2 separate regions of the Homo sapiens genome follow, and region 1 is linked to region 2. Evidence: promoter capture Hi-C in 16 types of primary human blood cells and fetal thymus (Javierre and others, 2016). All regions are on one chromosome and are shown on one strand. The core of a region is centred on a gene start or on the middle of the fragment in contact, and the rest is flanking DNA. Distances in the headings are between cores, read along the strand shown.

Evidence for each region. The method cuts DNA at HindIII sites, captures the fragments that hold promoters and counts their contacts. A CHiCAGO score of 5 or more calls a contact.
Region 1: a contact is called between a fragment that was not itself captured here and the fragment with the promoter of TCHHL1 in region 2, in 3 of 17 cell types (M2 macrophages, non-activated CD4 T cells and M0 macrophages). The highest score is 5.9, in M2 macrophages.

Annotation. Positions count from the first base shown.
Region 1 is chr1:152,446,164-152,449,605 of GRCh38, forward strand. No RefSeq gene overlaps it. Among named protein-coding and RNA genes, the nearest start is that of CRNN, 34 kb to the left of the region's middle. The HindIII fragment of the contact is 1,692 bases long and covers 944-2,635 here.
Region 2 is chr1:152,087,197-152,090,692 of GRCh38, forward strand. It overlaps TCHHL1 (trichohyalin like 1), which reads right to left and starts at 1,868. Exons shown (of 3, transcript NM_001008536.2): 1 at 1,824-1,868; 2 at 810-967; 3 at 1-347. The coding sequence starts at 947. The HindIII fragment of the contact is 6,885 bases long and covers 1,411-3,496 here.

The DNA of each region.
Region 1 (3,442 bases), core at 540-3,039, 360 kb after region 2:
TGTCCTGATTATGCATTTACAGAAACACTGTCCTCATTGGAATCAGTCTCTAACAGCCAACTCTATGAGCTGAGGAGGTAGAGTATCCTCCTGAACTGAGTTGCCTTCAGCGATGTCCTTCCTATTTTCAGAGGATAATGAAAGGTGATCTGTCATCCCATACAGCACCAGCCTTAAGAATCTTGAGTAGTCATTTCCTAAGGTCATGTCTTCCTGGCATTAGGCAGAAACCTGTGTCCTATTTCTGTCACATAGGATGTATGAGATGAGTGTCAGAATGGTTCTTCAGAGGCGCTTTAAGGAATAAAGTCTATCCCCTGATGCTGTCTGGCCAGGAAGAGGCTGTAGAGGTTGATGGTAGGGCTGGCCTCAGGGATGCAAAAGAGAATTAATGTGGTTAGGGATTCCTGTGTGCTGGGAATCGAAGAGGTACTTTAACCTCTGAACATCTTTAGAGGACACTGTGGAGAAATAGCAGAGACTGGAGAGGGAAAACTCAGGAGGTGATCACATTTAGGAGGTACTAGGAAAAGGAGTCACTTGAAGGAAGCAGGAACCAGAGATGGTCACAGAGCTATATAAGATCCATGTCTCTCATGGCCAGGCCTCCCAGTCAATTCCACTCCCATGTACTGAGCACTTCCTATGTATACCTGCTCCATTCAGCCCTGGGAATACAGTCATGAATGAGAAATGCACCTGTTCACAAGAAAATTCCACACTCTACCTGGGAGACAGAAGCACAAAACAAAAACAACAAAAAACACAGCATGACAGATATTCTGTTAGTGATATAACAAAGGAAGAGAGGAGACGTCAGGTTCTGTGAACACTTCAAAGAAAAAATAATGTTTGAACCTCACCTTGAAGCATGGATGAGGGATGAACTGGTATAGGAGGGTTGGCAAAGCATATTGGTCAGAGGGAAAAGCAAAGTCCCAGAAGCTTAGAAGGACATGGAATAATCCAGCCTTGTGGGGAAGAAGGTGGTTTCCAATGGAGGGAATGTCAAAAGTGGCAAAGGCTTGTAAGAGGCTAAGCAGGAAGAAAAGGTTGCAACCAGAGTCAATAGTGACTGCAACCTCGATTGTGTGTGTGTGCACGCGTGTGTGCCCCTCTGCTTGTGTGTGTATGCTGATGCATGGCTATGAGTGTCTGTGTGTGTATGTGTGACTATGAGTGTGTCTCTGTGTATACCGAAGATGTGAGTAAGTAGAGGCTCCTCTATTTATTCCTTTAAAAGGATGTTCATTAAGCACCTATCACATGCTAGGCACTGGGAGAAGGGAGGTGAATTAGAAAGACACAGACCCCTACACTGAGGGAACTCACACTCTAATGGGGAAGGCAGGCAAGGCACTAATAAACAAAGAAAAGTACAGCACGATAAGTGTGAGGAAGGAAATAGTCATGATGATGTGACACAGCATAATCATGGAGGCAGGGTACACCTTCAGGTAGCCAGGCCAGAAGGCCTCTCCCAAAAGGAGGCGTTTGAGCAGAGCCCTGAGGATGAGAAAGGGGATTATAGGCAGAGGGAACATTTAGAACAAACAGGAACAACTTGGTGCACATGAAAAGGACAAAAGAGGCTGTCAGTAGGGCTTGAGTGTAGCCAGCGAGGGCCAAAGAGGCAGGAGACGACTTTTAGTGAGTTTGAATCTTATTCTAAGAGCAGAGAAAAGCTGTTGAAGAATTTTAAGCAGGGAAAACATACTCCTAGATTTTTAAACGAGTCCTCTGGATGCTACATGGAGCTTGAACAGGAAGGGCCAAGAGTAGGAGCTGAGGGACTACCTTGAGGGGCTACTGCCATGGCCCAGGTTAAAGGGATGGTGGCAGAGGAGACAGAGAGAAGGTGGGCAGCTTCAAAATAGATTTGGCAATGGAGTGAAGAGGACTCGAAGTGGGGGAAAGGGGTGAGGGAAAAAGAAGAAGCAGGGGTGACATCTGGGTTTGGGGCGTGATCCAAACAAGCATAGAATCTTCTTAAGAATTTTGTGTCCTGTGTTCTGGACATCTCTCCAGACTAGACTCTGCTCCTGTGGCAAGGCTGTGGTGAGGCAATTGTGGGGGAGCTAATGTGGTTAGGGCTTTCTTTTGGTTCTGCAAGATCAAAGAGATGACTTTGCCCAGGGCTCCTCTGAGAACTGCCAGAAGTTTGCAAAGCTGGCTCCTGCCTGAGTAGTTAGCTCATGCTCTTAGTGCCAGGGATAAATGGAGACTACTTTGATTTATTCAACCTGTATTTATTAAGCAGTTGCTGTGTGCCCAACCCTGTTCTAGGTTCTGGGAATACAGTCGTGAACAAAACATACAAAAAAACCTACCCTCACATAGCTTTATAGTTGAGTGGTCTAACAATAGGTACAATAAGAAATAAACAGTGTCAAAGAGATACAAGAGTTATGAGAAAAGGTGGGGAGGAGGGGTAGGGAGTGCTGAAGGCAGGTGGAGGGGTGGGGACTGAGAATGGAAATATGGGAGGAATGTCAGGCTACGGAGTGTTCAGGGACTACTCCACAGAGCAGCCTTTCTGGGGCTACTGTGGCTAAAGGGGCATCGGCCACTGCCTGCAGTCAGGGTCGACACATCATATTTGCTTTCTTCTTAGTGCTTACCGCACTCCGTGATAAGCTTGTTTATTTATTTGTTTGCTAGTTTATTACTTTTTCAAATCAGATGAATTTTGGTATGATTCTGATAGGTGTAAGTTTTGGGAAAAGATGAAAATGGTGGTTGGGTTGGGATTGTGAAACGCTAGTGTTAAATCAAGTTTAGCCTAAAACTGCCTTCTTATATATTGTAAGTTCAGCCTAAAGGTTTCCTGTACATCGTGAATTATAACCTAAATGGAGTTTTACACAGACCGTAGCCTACTCTTGAGTCAATCACTGAGTTTTGGCCAGTTGAAGGTGGCCAACTATTCACACTGTGTTCAAATACTGCAAAGACCAAGCTGTAACCAATTCAGCTGTTTCTGTACCTCATTTCTGTTTTCTGTATGTCACTTTCCTTTTTCTGTTCATAAATCTTCTTCCCCAACGTGGCTGTGCTAGAGTCTCTGAGCCTACTGTGGCTTAGGAGTCTCCCCAATTAGCACATTGTTCTTTGCTCAATTACCGTCCTTTAAATTAAATTCAGCTGAATTTTTTCTTTTAACACCAGCAACGACCTAAGGAGCTGAGCTCAAATTTGGAAGATGCTAGACCTGGATATTGGGTTCACATTTTGAACCTAGTCCTGGGTTCAAGTTGCAGAGGCTCTTCTGATTGGAGTAGAAGGGAAGTATCCTGATGGAAGGGGGGTTTGGAGAAACAATTTGGATTGGAGACCCTGAGGACTGGGTGAGCTGGGTGGACTTTTCTCCTTTCTTGATCTGAGCAGGACACAGGAAGGCAGGGTTTCAAAATAGGGTTGCTGTTGAGTTAGAGCCTGGCTT
Region 2 (3,496 bases), core at 618-3,117:
TCTCTCCATGGGTCCACTCTGTTATTTCCAACTGCTCCACTTTCTTCAGGGATGAGCTGAGATGATGATGCCATTCCTGAAGGAAGCATCCTCTTTTCTTGAGTTGGTGAAGTTCCCACTGTCCACTGACCATCTCCGGTGGTTGCCTGAACATCCACATCATCTAGCTTCTCCTTCTCTGGTTTAGTCACCTGTCTTAGTTCAGAACTTAGTAATGATTTTATGTCAAGATAACAGAGGTTCAACAAGTTGAAGATTGCAAGAACAAATTCATCAAAACTGATGATGCCATTACTGTCAATATTCAGAAGATTTGAATTTTTTTCCACAGCATGAAGGACACAGGGCTGCATGAAAACACAGTGAGAAATCAGCTTATTTATATGTGGTCCAGTGTCCTAAGTGTCTCCCAAGAATCCTATTTTTCTGACCTCATTCCTCAGTAACTGGTTAACTTTCCCAGAACAGCAAGAACTTATTGGTTCTGCAAGCCATTTTTCATCAGAGAGCTATGCCTGAGAAAGAGCATTTACAACACTTGTGAGTTGCATTTTGATGCATAATGGTTTATGACTCCTTTCAGAAGTCAGCTTTGCAGAAGCAATAATCCCAGTGACGAAAACCTCTTTTTCTCTAAGTAATTGCACAGAGTATGGAACTGAGACTGAAAATAGTTGTTCAAGAGACAGTGAGTGCTGAGAACTGTTAGCTAGGTGTAAAATGGATGGGGATCACATATGCTCATCTTGCTTGGATTATAAAGAAAGGGTGAGTTGGAAAGAATTTACACAGCTCTGTGAGAAGCTCACCTGAAAAAAGTCCCCAAACTCGCCCTGGATGAGTTGTTTCAGCTCTCTGCCAGTCAGTGTTGCCCCGTTACTGTCCTCACTGGCATATTTGTGGAATGTCTCAATTACACAGAGGACATTTCTCAGGAGCTGAGGCATCTTTACAAACTCAGGAGAGGCTGTGAGAAAGAATAAACAAAGCTCATTTTCCAGGATGGGTCCTTCAGGGAGGAGATACCAAGATTATCCTTTTTGTTCCTCCCCCATCTCCACTGCAACCCCTGCTCTATTCTGTATCTTAAAATATTATATCTGAACTCCAGGGGTGATTTAGTATTGTACCAGACATTGTGGTGAAATCAGACCCAGCATAGGTAAGTATTAGAAGAGACAATTCACCCCACTCTTCAGTAAACAGCAACATTCATGTGCTCAGAGAAAGCTTCATTGCAAAAGGAAGGTGATAAGAGAACTCAAGCATAAGGATTGAAATGCATAAATGAAGCCAATAGAGTTGGACCCATTCTTCCAGCCTCATCCAAGAGTGTCTATCTGCTCTCCTCTCCCTTTGGCTCAGTCTAGCCTCCTGCGGTTAGGAGGGTATAACCTTTAAAGTTAGCAAAGCTTCTAGTGGAAAGATAAGTCACACCAAGAAAATTAACCCCTATGTTTGCAGGTGGTAACAACATGCTTTAACCAAGAAGACATGATTCCATGTCCCGACCCCTTATTCATTCATTTCCCATCCTTTAAATGCTTCTACATTTTCATTGCAATAGAGATCTGATCCTGTGCCTTGTTGAATAATATTCATGCCTATGACTTCTAAACAATTTATGTTTTTTTTAAAAAGAAAATGATCAAAGAAGTTCCATAATCAAGGAATGCATTTGGGTGGTTGGCGCTCCCAGTTTATTATTATTAATAGGGGTTGACATAGACTTAAAGTGTGTTTCCTTTGAAATCCTCTTGCAATCTCACATATAAGCAAAACAGCAACTGAAATCCCAAGTATGCTCAAGCAGATGGACTTACCTAGTTCACAAGCGAGAGCAGGTAGAACGTGGGGCAGCGGGCTGTGAGCTGACAGCAGGAGCTGGAACCTTTTATTGAGGTCCTAATTGCACAGTTAAGAAGGAGACACCCTCTGGGTCTAATGACCTGACATCACCACCAAATCCAGTCTCCCCTGCTCTGTTGTCAGTTGTCTTAATTTTATTTCCTTCTTTAGGCAGTTTCAATTAAATCTTAGCTTCAGATGCATCAAAAGAAAGGGGAGGGGGTTTCTTGATTCATTTACTGACTTTTGCAGATTATAGTTTTGAAGGCTCTTCAAGGTAGTGTTGGCTTCCCTCCCCCATTTTTTAACCTAAGGACATAATTACATTTCTGTCTGACAAATCATAGTGCTGGCAGGGACCTCATAAGTCATCTGATTCCTCTGTCTGCCCACAAGATGGCCCGTATTTGACCCAAACCTGAGAGATGGGTGTCAATCATGTGTTTAAAAATAAAGGCCCCCATTTAGCCATGTGACAAAAGTGGAGATACCAGTTGATTCAGATGTTTCAATGCTTTGCTCTCCTTGCCCAGAGGCAGAGTTAGAAAAAAAAAAAAATTCTTGCTTGGTGTGCAAAGCCTTGCTTACCTATGTTGTGCTATTTTAAAAACGTGATTGATATTTGCTTTCTAAAGACATTTTTACTATACAAGGAGCTTGAAACCAATAATCTATATTACTGTGTTCTCCCTGTAAAGGGGAAAGGGAGATGTTGAAATCATCAAGCTGAGAACAGAAGTGAGTCTGAGATGCTGAACTGGCAAACATTTTAATTGTCTCCTAGATCTGGGTCCTTCTTAGTAGAGAATATTTAATAAAATAAGAATTAGATTCAATGGTTTTCTTAGATATTTTTAAAAAATAGAGTATGTTTTAAAACACTCCTTGTCAAAGGATGGAAGAAATAGACAGATCAATGCAAACAAATATAAAAGACACAGACCAAGTTAAAGATGGGGTGGGAATGGGGGTAATTATATGAGAAAGCTGAAGCTAAGGGATGCATTGCTATTGAGCAAAAACCTTATTCTGAATTTCCTGATTATCGAGGAACATACAAGGGAACTAAATTTTGGGGAAAAACATTCATACTGATACTTTACACCTACAAACAATTTCTCAGCATCCTCCCAAAGGGAGAAGACTTCTGGGAATTGGAATTGGCATGTGAAGGTCATCTTAGTTCTGATTAGTTAATATCCCCAGAGTACCAGCTATTTCTCAACACTATGCCAGGAACTGGAGTGTTTAGAGTTGAGTAAGTTATATCTTCCTGCTCTGGAGCTCATGGGCCAGTCTCATGAAGAACTGGGTATATTCAAGGCTGGATTGGAAAGAAACACTTATGGGAGACATAATAACTGTCTTCAAATACTTGAAGGATTTTTATGGGTGTGGAAGAGAAAAGAATTAATGTTTATTGAAAACTTATGACATGTCAGGAGCTTTACATGGGCTATCTTAATCCTCACAGCCCTTTTAGGTAGTTATTATCCTCTTTTAACAGATAAGGAAGTTAAGGCTGTTAAGCAATTTGCCTACAGATATGTACCTTTACTAGGTAATGGCAGAGTCAGGATTCAGAAATGAAAGGTTTCAAGAAAGTATGTCTCTGGGCCAGGCGTGGTGGCTCACGCCTGTAATCCCA